Regions from separate parts of the Homo sapiens genome. Here all the other regions are linked to region 1. Evidence: promoter capture Hi-C in human tissues and cell types (Jung and others, 2019). All regions are on one chromosome and are shown on one strand. Each heading gives the region's core, a stretch centred on a gene start or on the middle of the fragment in contact. The rest is flanking DNA. Distances are from core to core; before and after follow the strand shown. Region 1 holds the start of HTRA3 (HtrA serine peptidase 3). Region 2 overlaps HTRA3 (HtrA serine peptidase 3). Region 3 overlaps SH3TC1 (SH3 domain and tetratricopeptide repeats 1).

Region 1 (4,635 bases), core at 1,744-4,243:
CATGCCCTCTCTGTCCTCCCCATCCTTCCCCAGGCAGTTCCCAGTCCTCCTCCACAGCTTGGCACAGAAGCGCCTCCTCTGGAGAGCCTCTCCTGACCTTGCTGGGTGAGACAGATTTGGGTCGGTCGCCACAGTGATAACAACATATGAAACAACGTGGTCTGGGGGTTGCCCATCAGGCAAGGGGCGTGTGCCTTCGTGTCTGGCAGCAGCTCTCCTGCAGGTCCCCGCTTCTCATTTGAGGAAACTCACGGTGAGCAAGTGGTCTAAGGTCACCTCATCGGGAAGAGGTGCGCTGGGACTGCAGACCCCGGAGCACTGAGGCCTCAGCCCATGACCCCCCACGCTCACGGCCACCTCCTGGCCTTCTGAGCTCCCCATGCACCTGTCTCTGGGGATAAGACTATTTTCCTCCTCCCTTCTGTCCCCTCGATGGTCTGTGAGGCTTGAGGGCACCAACAGGGTCTGCTACATGGCTGTGCCCTGTCACCAGCCTGGGGCCAGCCAGGCACACAGAGAAAGTGCCTCATGACGCGAACTCCAGAAGTCAGTGAGTGTCTCAGAACACCCAGGCTGCCTCCAGCTCCCTGCCAGCCCTGAGCCCTGCAGCCCTATTCTCATAGTGCCTTCCACGGTGGGGAGCGGGGTGGGGAGGTGGCCCCCATGCACACAGCTGGGCTGCAACGGGCAGGCCCAGGAAAGGTACCCCAGCACCAAGCCCCAAACTGATGTGCCACTGTGACAGTGCAGCAGGCGTTGAGTCAATGACAACGTCTCCAAGACCCCGCAGCCCCACACTCGCACCCCTCAGCCTCCTGGGCAGTCTCAACACAAGCCGGACCTCATCACCCTCACCCCCATGATGGTTTGAACATGTTCCCTCCAAAACAGAGGTGTTGCCAATGTGATGGTATGAAAAGGTGGGGTGTTAGGAGGTGATGAGGTCACAAGGGTTCCTCCTTTCGAGCGTGGGCAGAAGCTCCTTATGAGAGAGGCTACAGGCAGCGTTCGGCCTTGTCCCTGCCTGCACTTCTGCCGTGTGAAGACGCAGCTTCCTCCCTTCCGCAGAGTGCAGCCCTCACCAGACAACCAAGCCTGCTGGCACCTTGGTCTTGAACTTTCCAGCCTCCAGAGCTGCGAGAAATACATCTCTGTCCTGTATAAACTGCCCAGTCTCAGGCGTTGTACCAGCACAAGGTGGACTGGGACTCCCCGCCAAACCCTGCGGTGGCTCTTCCACATAATCCTAGCTAATCTCGAATGATGCTTCCCACACGGGGCTCCCAGGAACCCCAGCGTGCTGGGAGGAGGTCACGTGTTCTGCCAGAAAAGAAGAGCTCTCTGTTGAAATTCTCTGGGGAAGCCCTGGGTTTCATCAATTGAGGACACTGCAGGTTTTCTCAGAACCTCTGATAGATTGAGCCTGTGAGTCTCCACTACAGGAATAGAGCGCTCAGTTCCCCAACCTTTTTACACCATGAAAACACTTGGAATTGTGTTCAGCGGACCGCAGAAAAAATGAGGAAGCCCTCTGCAGGCTTCCCAGGAGCCCCGGCAGTTGGTGCTCCCCATGGTGCTCCTGAGGCTCCACGGAGCCTGTTCTGGCAGCTACTGCATCTCTCCCTGCCACCTGCAAGCTGATGGCACGCAGGACCCTGACTCCTATCCATGAACCTGGGGCCCGTCGCCTGTCTTCAGTGAACCCCTGTCCGGCCACAGCAGAGTCTGCTTTCCTAAGAGGCACCCCAAACAGGGAAAAAGGTACAGCAGGTTTTCCAGCATTTTCCTCCACGTACAGAGTCAACCTGCACGGTGAGATGCAACCTAGAGCCGACTGCCTCAAGGGAGGCTGTTCTAGGGTCTGACCCCGACATTCTCTCCCCCAAGCAGCCTCTCCCTGGGGCGCCCTAAGCAGTTCAGGGACCTGCACCCTGACCCTTCCCACACAGTCCTGTGGAGACATGCACTTAACCACAGTCTCCAGGAAAGAAGGCATCACCCAAGAGGGCACCCCGGCTGGAGAGTTAGGGCAGGAAAGAGTGCCCTTCACTCAATACCCGGACAGAGCAGGGGTCCAAGGATCAAGGGAATGGGCACGAGACATCAGTTCTGAAGAGACCAGAGCTGGAAACAGTCCTAGATGAGGCCCCTCGGGTGGCCAGGAGACCACCGGGTTTCCCTTTTGACTCTAATTCTGTGACCTTGGGGACAGCGGTTTACCTTTCCGGGCCTCAGTTTCTTCATCTGAAAGACCAGAGGGCTGGTGGGATGATTTCTGAAGGGCCACCCGGTGGTGCCCAGGGAAGGGCGACCTCGAGCTCGGCCCTAACTCCCGGCCTTAGTTTCCCCAAGAGAAAGAAGCTTCACTTCCTCCCTGGCCCCCGAGCGCTTACCCAACGGGCAGGCGCCCTTCTGCAGCTGGCGCACGGGCGTCCCGGAGAGCTGCAGCGCGCGGCGGCTGGCCGCCTGCAGCGCGCACACGTTGGCATAGGTGTGCCCGTCGGTGCCACACACGGCGTGCGACCAGCGGCAGCGGCATAGGCCGCGCACGCACTCCAGGCTCTCGCCGCAAGGCGAGTCCAGAGGGCCGCCACAGGGCTCGCCCTCGCTGGCGGCGCACACCAGGCAGCAGTTGCAGAGGTCGGGCACGTAGCCGCCGGGGCAGCGGGGGCTGGGACACCGCGACACGTCGCAGCGCGCGGGACACGGCGCCGCAGGGGGCTCCCGGGCCAGCGCCAGCGCGGCCAACGCGGCCAGGAGCAGCGCTCGCGCCTGCATGGCGGCAGGGCCGGCGGCGGGTGGCAGCGCGGGAGACCGGGCGGGGGCCGGCGGGGACAACGAGGCCGCTGCGGGGCCGGGCGCCGGGCGCCTACGGATGGGACTGGGGCGGACGCGCGGTCACATGCGCCGGTGGCTCAGGCTGGCGGGCGTCAGGGCGGCAGGGGCATCCCCAGGGCGCAGGGAGCGCAGGGACCAGCTCCCTCCAGCCTGACGGTCCGCGGGCGGCGGGTCCCGCGCCTTTAAAGGCGACCGCCCAGCCCGCCCTCGCTGGAAGGGGCGGCCCGGCCCCTCCGCCAGCCCCGCCCAGGCCCCGACAGGGCCCCGCCTGGCCTTCCGGGCCTGGACCCACCCGGCAGGCCTTGGGACTCTGGTCGGCCTGGTCGAGAAAACCCGAGGCTACAGACACGCAGGGGTCCTTTCTGGTGGGGACCCCCGGGCCCAGCCTATCCCAGAAACGTTGGGGGATGCGTTCTCCCCGCTCTGGAGGGGTCTGTCCGTGTCCAGTCTCCTCTGTGCCTCAGTTTCCTCCTCCAGGAAAGGGGAATTGACAGCATTTCTCAACCTCATAGGGTCGTTGGAAGAACCACAGAGGCCATGGCTGAGCAGTGTTCCCGAGTCCTCGCTGTCCACGGAACCGGAAGCTGTTTCCATTCTCATCATTGCTCCTGCATTTTCTGCAGGGCCCCTTCAGACCCAGGTCCCATCACGAGAGTCAGAATCTGGTGACAGTGCGTCAGCTGATGGGGTGAAGGCTGCGGAGTTGTGAGAGAAGGCAGAACCCCCCTTGGAGGTGAATGTCAAGCCTGAAGAGGAAGGATGGGAAGCGGGAGCTGGCCGTGACCTGGGCAGAGGCTCCCAAGCAAAAGCAGGTCGGGGCAGCAGGAGATAACGCCGCGCGCACAGCCTGGAGCTGCGGTCTTCACACTGTGTGTGTTCCTAGTACCCTGGGCTGCCTGGCGAAGCCTGGGTGTCCTTTTCAGAACGATGTCGTCAAGTAGATTTAAACGCATAAAACAAAGACCATGGGGTCACAAAGGGGAACAATTCTATCAAAACACAGTTATCAAAATACATGAAACAATTCATGACAGCGTGGCCTATGGGCTTCTTTATCAGCATGTTAATGGCAGGTTCTGGTCGGTCTGTCGTCTGATACCAGTGGACACTTCGCAGCAGCCCTGTGCAGAGGGCTGCCACTGGAGACACCTTCGGTGAGGGCGGTAACATGGGGATGTAAACACTGCTTCTGCTGGCCGTGGAGCCACAGGCCCTGCTGGCTGGGGTCAACTGCACCCCCAAAGGAATGAATGCTGGACTTCAGTTGGAGTTGTTGGGGTAAATAAAGACGTTTTTCCATCCAGGTTCACAGATACCCAAGTTAAGAATGGGGAGGGGTACCTCTGGTCCAGAGGAGGGAGGGGGAGCTGGAGGTTAAAGGGCCTCGGGGAATGGGAAGGTGGAGGGGCCTGATCCCTGAGGGCCCTGGGTCCTCAAAGGCCTGGGGAGGCGTTGAGTAGGGAGCGGCCCCATCAGACAAGATGTCTGGGGAGGATGAGGTGGGAGGAGGCGGGGCGCCAAGTGTGAGCCCCCATAGGACCCAGAGAGAGTGAAAGGTTGAAGGGTCCCAGGGGACGGGGAGAGAAGGGACCTGGAGCTTCTCCCCCTAAAAGGCCCTTTGACAAGGGGCAATAGCACCTGCGTTTCTGCCTCTACAAACCTCAAGTGCACTTTACTTTGAAGATGTGGAGAATTTCAGGCCATTTTTTGGAATGACCCAGAATGCTAGGAGTTGGGGACCTCAGGGCTGGGCTGAACCTCCCTCAACCTTGGCCAGGGCTCCCGGTTCATGTCTCT
Region 2 (4,727 bases), core at 1,038-3,537, 35 kb before region 1:
AAACTTTATTTTCCATACAGTAGAGAAACATACAGTACAAGCAACACTGGGAATCCATTTACAGCAAAGCTCACAAATGCCCCTTGAGACACACTCGTTCCCTGGATGAGGGGGTGGTGCCCAGCAGCCTGCATGCCTCTGGGCGGCACTTCCATGCGAGCGGCTGCTGCATCCCAGAGCTGCGTGGGAAGGGGAAGCCGGCTCAGTCCTCACACCCCGCAGCTCCACGTCCACTGTCCTCTGCAGGCTGCCCCATGGCCGCCTTGGGGAGGAGAAGCTTCCCCAGGCAGCAGCCAACTTTCCACGTGCTCCCCGCGGCCTCCTGCCTGCCTGGGGAGGAAAACCTCATGGCAGGGCGGGGCTCAGCTCCGCAGCCAGGGGGCATTCACTCAGTGCCTGCTCTGGGCTGGACCCCACCCCCGCACCCCAAAGGGATCAGATGTGACCTGTCCTCCAGGGACCCCAGGCTGGCAGGCAGCAGCCCTGGCCCTACAGCTTGGTAAGTCCTAGGGCAGAGGGAAGCTGGGGCCTCAGGTCAGGTGGGCGTTTGTCAGGGGGGAAGAAGCTTGGCAGCCCAGACCTGCAGTAGGAGGGGCAGGAGCAGGGGATACTGCAGATGGGTGTTCACAGGGGCAGAGGCGGGAAGCTAGGAGAGGAGGGGACCTCCATGGAAGGCAGTTTTGTGAATATCCGGAGAACTTGGAAGTGACTTTCAGGATCATCTGTACAAGGGGATGTTGGGCTTCCCTCCCCGGCACCGGGATGTGGATCCAACACTCCCCAGGCGGAAATTCGGGCCCCTGGCCAAGCCCAGCCTCCGCTCTGCCCCGGACAGCCAGGAGGAGGCTGCCGCCCTGCTGAGGACCGACGGTGGTCCTTCGTCCTGATCTCGGGGGGGCGCTGCCCTCCGTTGTCTGCAGGCTCTGACGCTTGGCGCTGGAGGAATGCGCCCCTCACATGACCACCTCAGGTGCGATGCTGAAGAGGAGGTCGTCGTTCCCCCGCCGCACCTCCAGTAGGAGAGGAGACTCGGTCAGCACGGCCTCCTGCAGCTCACTCGAGTCCACTAGAGGACGCCCGTTGACCTTGACGATGATGTCACCATCTTGGATGCCGCCTCTGCCAACAGGAGAGACGGGGTCACCACCCACCGCCTCCCCAGGCACAGCCTTCCCAGGCCCGGCCCAGAGCGAGGCACAGTCAGGGTCAATGACAACATTTCAACAAAAGTCATCTCGATGGGAAAGAACAGTGCCCCAGCCCCAAAGCTCTCACACCAGAAGAAAACCAATGTCACACGACAGGGAAACAACCTTTCAAACTGCTTCTCCCATGCGTCAGAAGGGTGGGTTCAAGCTCCCGCTGCAGCCCTCCTAGCTGGGCCAGGCACTCTGTCCCCTTGTGCCTCAGTTTTCATGTCTACCATCCTATGTGGAAACGCACTTTGCAAATTATAAAGGCCCAGGAGTAGGTTCTGCTGTTACTGCAGTTACGAAGACGTCTATGTGGGAGGCAGAGCTCACGGGGCCAGCCTTCTCTCTGCATGAGGCTCACTGAGACCTCCCCACTGCTGGGAAGGAAGGTGATGGTACTGTGCTCAGCTGCGTGGGCACCAGCATCAGGACCCTCACATGCCAGCTGTGTGACCTGGAAGAGTAACTTCTCTAAACCTCAGTCCCTCCACCTGTAAAATGGGTGAGGGCAGGAGCCTGCACCTCCCTGGCTGCAGTGAGGATTAACTGAGATGTGTGTGGAAAATTTCACCCAATTTCAACAATTTTTACTGCAGGCCTGCTGCGGGCAGGACAAGTGTGCCATCTGTGCTCATCACAGAAGTTCACGCGGGGCCTCCCACCTTCAAGCCCAGCCTCTGAGGATGCACAGTACAGTCGGCCCTTGAACAACATGGGTCTGAACTGTGTGGGTCCACTTATATGTGGATTTTTCCCACTGCAGATGAAGACCGAGGCTAAGGAGGGGAGGCAACTGGTTCAGAGCCCTTCTTGGGAGTGGGTCAGCCATGCCAGCATGTGGTAGTGTCGCTGCACGCCTGCCTCAGCCTATGGTGTTGCAATGCTTAACATTTCTCTAGTACTGGAAGACTTCAAAGAAAGCAATCCTTTATCCATTTCATCTACAAAGTCTCCTGGGGGTAGAAATCCCAGCACTTTGGGAGGCCAAGGCAGGTGGATCGCCTGAGGTCAGCAGTTCAAGACTAGCCTGGCCAACGTGGTGAAACCCCTTCTCTACTAAAAATACAAAAACAATTAGCAGGGCATGGTGGTGGGCACTTGTAATCTGAGCTACTCAGAAGGCTGAGGCAGGAGAGTCGCTTGAGCCCAGGAGGCAGAGGTTGCAGTGAGCTGAGATCGCGACACTGCACTCCAGGCTGGGCAACAAGAGGGAGACTGTCTCAAAAAAAAAAAAAAAAAAAAAAAAAAAAAAACAATAGGCTGAATTATCTCCACTTTACAATGAGGAAGCTGAGTCCCAGAAAGACCCAGGACCCAGGCTGGTCCCCAGCTAGTGAAAGAGTCTGGCTTGGAGTGGGTTCTTAGCCCAACAGGGACTCTTCAGCCTCTGCTTCTCGAAGGAAATGACATTGTGGGACTTAGGACGTACACAGTCAGGGCTCTAGGGACCATTCAGCTCTCCAGCCTCCTCTGGCTTAGCAGACACGCTAGAATCCACCTGCCCCTTCCCGGTCACTTTGCTGGGAAGCTCAAGGTCACATGAGGTCAGTGGGGCAGCCCCAGCCCAGACCTCACGCCTGCCCCATGCCTCGAGCGATCTCCTCTGGCAGAGCCTACCTCTGAGAAGGTGAATTCGGCGCAACCTCTTGCACATAAATTCCACTGCTGACCTCTGGGAAGTCCGGGTTGCTGGCCTTCAGCTCATCCACCAGGCTGGAAAGAGTCTGCCGTCAAGGCCCCTCCCCTGAGCCTTTGCCCAGCTCTTTGGTATGAAGCTGCCCCTCCCTCCCTCCAGCACCAGACCAGAAGAGGAGCCACCTCTGGGCCCCCATACTGCCCTGTCCCACCACTGGCCACTCTGTGTCCCCTACCAGATGTGCTTCTTAAGAGAAACGTGGTAGCAATAGCTGGTTAGAAGCGTGAAGAGAGGAGAGAGAGTGGGTAGACAGGTGGGAGGAGGGGCGGGAGGATGGATGGATGGATGGATGGATGGATGAATGAAGGAATGATGCTGGATGGGTGGATAGAAGGAGAAATGGACAGACAGGCAATGCTGAGTCATGGAATGGACAGACAATGCTGAGTCACGGAACGTACAGACAATGCTGAGTCACGGAACGGACAGACAATGCTGAGTCATGGAATGAACAGACAATGCTGAGTCATGGAACAGACAGACAGAAGACTGGACAGAGGTGGGATGGACAGACAGATAAAAGAGACAGAAAACAAAAGATAAATTGGCATACTGGACATTGATAATTTTTTTCAAATGTCACCCCTAGATTAGCAGAGTTGGTGAAACAGGAGGAATGACAGCTTTAGGGACTGTGTGCTTTGAGGAAATGGTCACTTGAGCATTCTCGAGTTCTTCCTAGGCTCCCGATGCAGTGACCTCTCCCTTCTTCAAACCTCGAAGCTCAAGTTTGTACTTCCAGCCTCCCTTCTATCCTGCCCCTGCTTCCTCTCCCCCAGCCCCTTCTTTCTTGCACTCATTCAGCATTTCCAGGCACCTGCTCTGCAGTGGACCTGCTTTTGGGGCAGAGTGGAGGAATAAGTAGGTCACAGTCCTTGCTCCCAAGGAGCTGACAGCCGAGGAGGCAGGATGGGGTGGGGCGGTCCCACCACAGGTGATTCCGACACAGCAGGATGAGTTCAAGGCTGGAGAGGGAGGCCAGGGCTCTGTGTGCTATGAGGAGGCACCTTCTGCCACTTGAGTGTCCTGGGAATGCAGAATGGTGTTCCCCCAAATTCGTGTACACCCAGAGCCTCAGAATGTGACCTTGTTTGGAAATAGGACCTTTATAGATGTCATTAGTTGAAGATCTTGAGAAGAGACCTTCTTGGTTTAGAGTGGGCCCTAACTCCAATGATGGATGTTTTCATAAGAGAAACGAGAGAGAGATGTGCACACAGATACTCAGAGAGAAAGAAGGTCAAGTGAAGACAGAGGTAGAGACTGCAGGGAGGCAGCCACAAGCCAAGGATGCCTGGAGCCAGCAGAAGCTGGAAGGGGCAAGGAAGTAGCTTTCCCTGGAGCCTCAGAGGCAGAGTGCAGCCCTGCCGACCCCTTGACTTCAGATCCCCGACCTCCAGAACTGAGAGGGAACACATTTCTGCTGTTTTAAGCCACCAGGCTTATAGTAATTTGTTATAGCAGCCATGGAAAGAGATAGCGTCCTGAAAGAGCAGAAGGAATCTATAAGGCAAAGAGGGAAAGGTCCACGCAAAAGGACTGGCCTGAGCAACGGTCAGAGGCCTGAGTGCATCGGCCCGTCTGGGCACCTGCAAGGAGCCGAACACAGCCAGCCAGGGTCTGGAGGGAGGGTCAGGGTGAGGGATGAGAGGAAGGGGTAGCAGGGGATGGCACTCTTCAGACACTCACCTTGGTGTGATCGTCCGCATCCGTATGCCGATGAAGCGCTTCTTCCAGTCTGGAAATGAAACACGGCGAGACTCCGTTAGGGCTGCTGTGAAAAGCCACCACGCTCCCTCAGGGGACAGGCAGAGGACAGAAGTTCCCCTGCAGGACCA
Region 3 (4,608 bases), core at 432-2,931, 47 kb after region 1:
CCAGGCCTCCACCCCACCCAACCCCTGTGGGGATTCCACTCTCCCGTCTTCTGGGGACATCCTCCCATCATCAGTGGGGAGCACGCTCTCGGCTTCCATCAGCTCCATCAGGGAGCAGGGCGCATTGAACAGGCAGCAGCTCTGAGTCCGACAGCCCAGGGATCAACACTGCTCCAGTGCACCCCCACCCTCTTCATCCCAGGGCAGGCAGCTACCGGGTCTCAGTTTCACCCCCGTAAAGTGGCTGACACTAACTGCTTACTGGGTTTCCGTGGAGGTCAAGTGAGAAATAGCTGTAAAAAGATGTGGAGATGTGGACAGCGTCAAGCGCTGTGAACTGCGATAACAGGTGTGCAGTTCTGGGGAGCACCCTGCAATGCCTCCATCTCACAACACCTGCATCCTGCAACACCCCCACTTATGACACCTGCACCCTGCAATGCCCCTGCCCACAACACCCCACGGTGTGGAGGGTCCCAAACCTGCTTCCTAAAAAGGACAGGAGATACCATCCAGGGGGTCTGAGCCTTGATATGCTGAGGTCAAGTCTAAGTTTGTCCATTCAGGAAGGGAAGTTGATTTGTGGGATCTACAAATGTTAACTCTAATACTGGTGGGAGAAAAGGTCTTGTAATGCATGTCATCGAGCAAGCAGGAAAAAAGTGTGTGTGGAAATGTATCTGTTTATATATGTGTGTGCATATGTGTGTGAGGGGGTGCATGGATATGTATGTACGTGTGCGTGTACACCTTGTGAGGAAGGTGCATGCACATGTGTGTATGTGTGTATACACCTCTGCAGGCACATGTGCACACATGTCTGCATGGGTGGGTGTGTGTGTGTGTATACTTGTGAGTGCATGTGTGCATGCACACAGTGTGTATTTACATGCGTATTTGTGTGTTTATGTCTGTGTTTGTACATGTGCACATAGGTATACAAGTAGGTGTGTAGATGCTGGGCACAGTGGCTCACAGCTGTAATCCCAGCACTTTGGGAGGCTGAGGCTGGCGGATCACCTGAGCTCAGGAGTTCGAGAACAGCCTGGCCAACATGGCGAAACTCTGTCTGTATAAAAAAATGCAAAACTAATCCAGGGTGTGGTGGCGCGTGCCTGTAGTTCCAGCTACTTGGGAGGCTGAGACACGAGAATCGCTTGAACCCGGGAGGCAGAGGTTGCAGTGAGCCGAGATCATGCCACTGCACTCCAGCCTGGGCAACAGCACAGGACTCTGTCTCAAAAAAAAAAAAAAAAAAAGTGGGTGTGTAGCCACACATTTGTGTTTATCTACACCCAGCAGATAGCACGGCCTCTGCCATGTTTCTTTATGTTGTGGATGACATGCCAACTTCATCTATGCGTTGCACTGCAGCCCCCAGAGAAAGCTTTTGCACACAGAGGGGCACTGAGGTCAGAGGGACTATCTCTGTCCTTAGGAGACGGCAGCCCTGGGGTCCCACCATGACACTCCCTGGCAGCCAGGTGACCAGGCCACACCACAGTCTGGGTTCTTTCTCTTGTGACAAGGAGAAAAGTCACTCTCACCCAGGCAAAGTGCAGTGGGCAGAGGGCTGGGCCCCAAACAGGAGCCCTCAGGGCTGGCAAATTAGAACCAGACCCATACCCTCTCCCTCGCCCAGCGTCTCAGGCAGGTGCCTGGGGTCAGGGCAGGAAGGGCTTCCCTGGTGCCCACAGGAGTCTCAGGGGCCACATTCCCACGCCCTCAGCTCCTCACCCATCCTCTCTCCTGTCTGGCTTGTCTGCAGCCCCTATGTGCCCTGGAGGCAGCGGCAGCCTCTGTCTGTTCACCTTTCAGCATCCAGGGGCTGGCACTATCTGTGGATGGACGAGGGCAGCAGGGGCTGCAGAAGGGAAAGGGGAGGGCAGTGGCCCCACCACAGGCATCGCCCACACGCACCCAGGCTGTACACGCTGCAGACATCGGTGCCCGACATCCGCCTCAGCAACTGCCTGGCATCCTCCTCAGAAAAGCAGCCCTCGCTGAAGAATGACTTTTCTTCCTCATTGAGAAAAATCGCACTTTCCAACCTGGAAAAAATAAAGTGCTTTATTCAAAACAACATATTTGCAAAGTCAGCATTTCACACTAAGCACATTTCCATTCCTTGATTTGACAGACAGATAGTCTCGGAGCACTACTCTCTGCCCAGGGGTAGAGACAGAGATTTAAAAACAACAACAACAACAACAAAAAGTCCAGGCATGGTGGCTCACACCTGTAATCTCAGCACTTTGGGAGGCTGAGGTGGGCGGATCACTTGAGGTCAAGGGTTCAAGACCAGCCTGGCCAACATGGTGAAACCCCCATCTCTACAAAAATACAAAAATTAGCCAGGCGTGGTGGCATGAGCCTGTAATTCCAGCTGTTCGGGAGGCTGAGGCAGGAGAATCACTTGAACAGAGGAGGAAGAGGTTGCAGTGAGCCGAGTTCACACCACTGCACTCCAGCCTGGGTGACAGAGCAAGACTTTGTCTGAAAAAAAAAAAAAAAAAAAAAAAAAAAAAACCAGATCCTGACCTCAAGGGGTGCCTTGTCTGGCCAGGGGCAGATACCCAGAAGCAGGAAAGGCTGAAACAGATGCAAACAAGTAATGGTGTCCTAGGACAGTGAGCTCCTAGGCAGCCTTCAAAGCCCCATTCCAAATGTCCCCTCCCTTATGAAGTCCCCTGTGACAGCTGCAGACAGAACCAATCCAATCTCTCCACATTGTAAACTCCCACTGATTCTGTACAACCTCAGTGCTCCCCAGAGTGCCCAACATACACTCAGGGCACTCTCATAAAGTCAGGGAGAAGAACTACAGGAAGAAACAGAGAGAGAGGGAGAGAGGGGAGGAGAAAGGAGGCAATTTTTGCTTATAGGACTAAATTACCAGTATAATATGAAGCTTTGAAATGCATCTTATTCAGATTTTAAAAAAACTTAGAGTAGCTTACAGCACATTCTACAAAATAACAGGCCTGTATTCTTTAAAAACATCAGAAAAAGACTGAAAAGCTGTTTCACATTAAGGAGGCAAGACATGACGTCTGAATAGAACACGTGGTCTGAAATTGTCATTGTCTACAAAGGCCATCATTGTGGCTCCTGGCAAAATCTGAGTAAGATCTGTAGATAATGGCATTGTATCTGCGTTCATTTCCTGATTTCGACAGTTGTACTGTAGTTATGTAAGCAGATGTCCTGGTTTTAGGAACCACATACTGCATTATTTAGGGGTAAAGGAACATCATGTTTGCAACTTACTCTCAAAGTGTTTAGAAAAAAATAGAAGTGAAAGAGAGAAAGCAATAAAGCAAATGTCATAACATGTTAACATTTGTGCAATCTGGGTGAGGGCGTGTGGGAATGTTATACTCTTTTTGCAACTTTCTTCTAAGTCTGAAATTGTGTCAAAAATAAAGTTAAAGAAAAAAAAAAAGAAGAGCTACCAGGTTGTTCACTAAATAAAAGATGAAAACCCCGGGTCTGGAATAGGAAAGATATTCAGCAAACATTTGTTGAGTGAATGAGAGAAGTCAGAATTTCTCCAGCTGTGAACAGGACTAATGGCACCCAGCCCCGTCATCCTTCTGGGTTAAAGGAAGGGAACAAACTAGCTCATTCCCTGGCTCTTCTCTGACCCCTTGTAAGTTCAGTACATGTTGACTTCACACGGCCCCCAGTGACCTGTTGAGAATTTGTGGTCTCCCTTGGAGATGGTAGGGATCAGCTAGACCAAGGATCCCCAAAGAGTGTCCCATGGAACACCAGCTCAGCCAAAAGCAAACAGGGTTGTGGAGGATTCTGGAGGTTAAGTAAGTGTGGAAAAGGCATTTCAACAGGAAAAAGATGCCTTGTTTGTGCTGGGAATCCCTGGGATCACCCACAAGGGATGTGGACAAAGCTTTTCCCCACTCCTTAGGGCATGATGAAGTCTATGATGGAGCAGTGTGTGAGAACATGCTTTGGGAACTGCTGGTCTAGCTCCTGCCATCAGTGCATGGCCTGGCCAGCTTCCAGCTGCTTCTGATGCACAGGTGCCAGAGGTACCAGAGCAGACGGACCCTTTCCATGAGGGGAACAAGTGAACGGCTTGATGAGGCATGGTGACAAACGGCCTCTGAGACCTGGTCTGAGAGGTGTTGGTCTGTCGCAGCCCTAAACATTGAACAGGACCACTGAAGACAAGCATCTCATTGGTGGGGCCAGGACCAGGATCACATGACCCAGAAGGTGGCCTCTCCATGCACCCACATTCTCTGGGCTCCTTGACTGAGGTCTTAACAAGGACAAGGCCAGGGAAACAGAATTCCATCAAAGGATGGGCACAGCTGACTCCTCTCCAAAGACCCCCTGCTGCTGCTCGCACTGGGCAGTGAGAACACAGAAGTGACCAGGGAATTCTTCTCTTGGAGTTCCCTGGCTGGGAGCAGGCAGGTCATGGGTGGCGTGTAAATCACATAGGAAGAGGCGTATGGCCAGAAGAGTGCCCCCCCCAGAGGAGCCACGGGGGCTGATGGAAGGCCCCAGGAGAACACGGGGTTCAGGGAGAGGGGGCATCCCAGGCAGAAGGACACACGTGTCACCCAGAGCAGTTTTGGA

The links. The method cuts DNA at HindIII sites, captures the fragments that hold promoters and counts their contacts. A contact is called where the count stands out against the background at its distance.
Region 2: a contact is called between a fragment that was not itself captured here and the fragment with the promoter of HTRA3 in region 1, in 1 of the 25 tissues and cell types used here (spleen).
Region 3: a contact is called between a fragment that was not itself captured here and the fragment with the promoter of HTRA3 in region 1, in 1 of the 25 tissues and cell types used here (thymus).

What each region holds. Positions count from the first base shown.
Region 1 is chr4:8,268,112-8,272,746 of GRCh38, reverse strand. HTRA3 (HtrA serine peptidase 3) reads right to left here and starts at 2,993. Exons shown (of 9, transcript NM_053044.5): 1 at 2,394-2,993. The coding sequence starts at 2,778. It overlaps LOC105374373 (a long non-coding RNA gene), which reads left to right and starts at 2,566. Exons shown (of 2, transcript XR_001741572.2): 1 at 2,566-2,640; 2 at 3,351-4,141. The HindIII fragment of the contact is 12,405 bases long and covers 1-4,635 here.
Region 2 is chr4:8,302,363-8,307,089 of GRCh38, reverse strand. It overlaps HTRA3 (HtrA serine peptidase 3), which reads right to left. Exons shown (of 9, transcript NM_053044.5): 7 at 4,579-4,627; 8 at 2,811-2,906; 9 at 1-1,119. The coding sequence ends at 954. Among named protein-coding and RNA genes, the nearest start is that of LINC02517, 15 kb to the left of the region's middle. The HindIII fragment of the contact is 3,732 bases long and covers 422-4,153 here.
Region 3 is chr4:8,220,283-8,224,890 of GRCh38, reverse strand. SH3TC1 (SH3 domain and tetratricopeptide repeats 1) reads right to left here. Exons shown (of 18, transcript NM_018986.5): 10 at 1,921-2,051. Among named protein-coding and RNA genes, the nearest start is that of SH3TC1, 23 kb to the right of the region's middle. The HindIII fragment of the contact is 3,460 bases long and covers 1-3,411 here.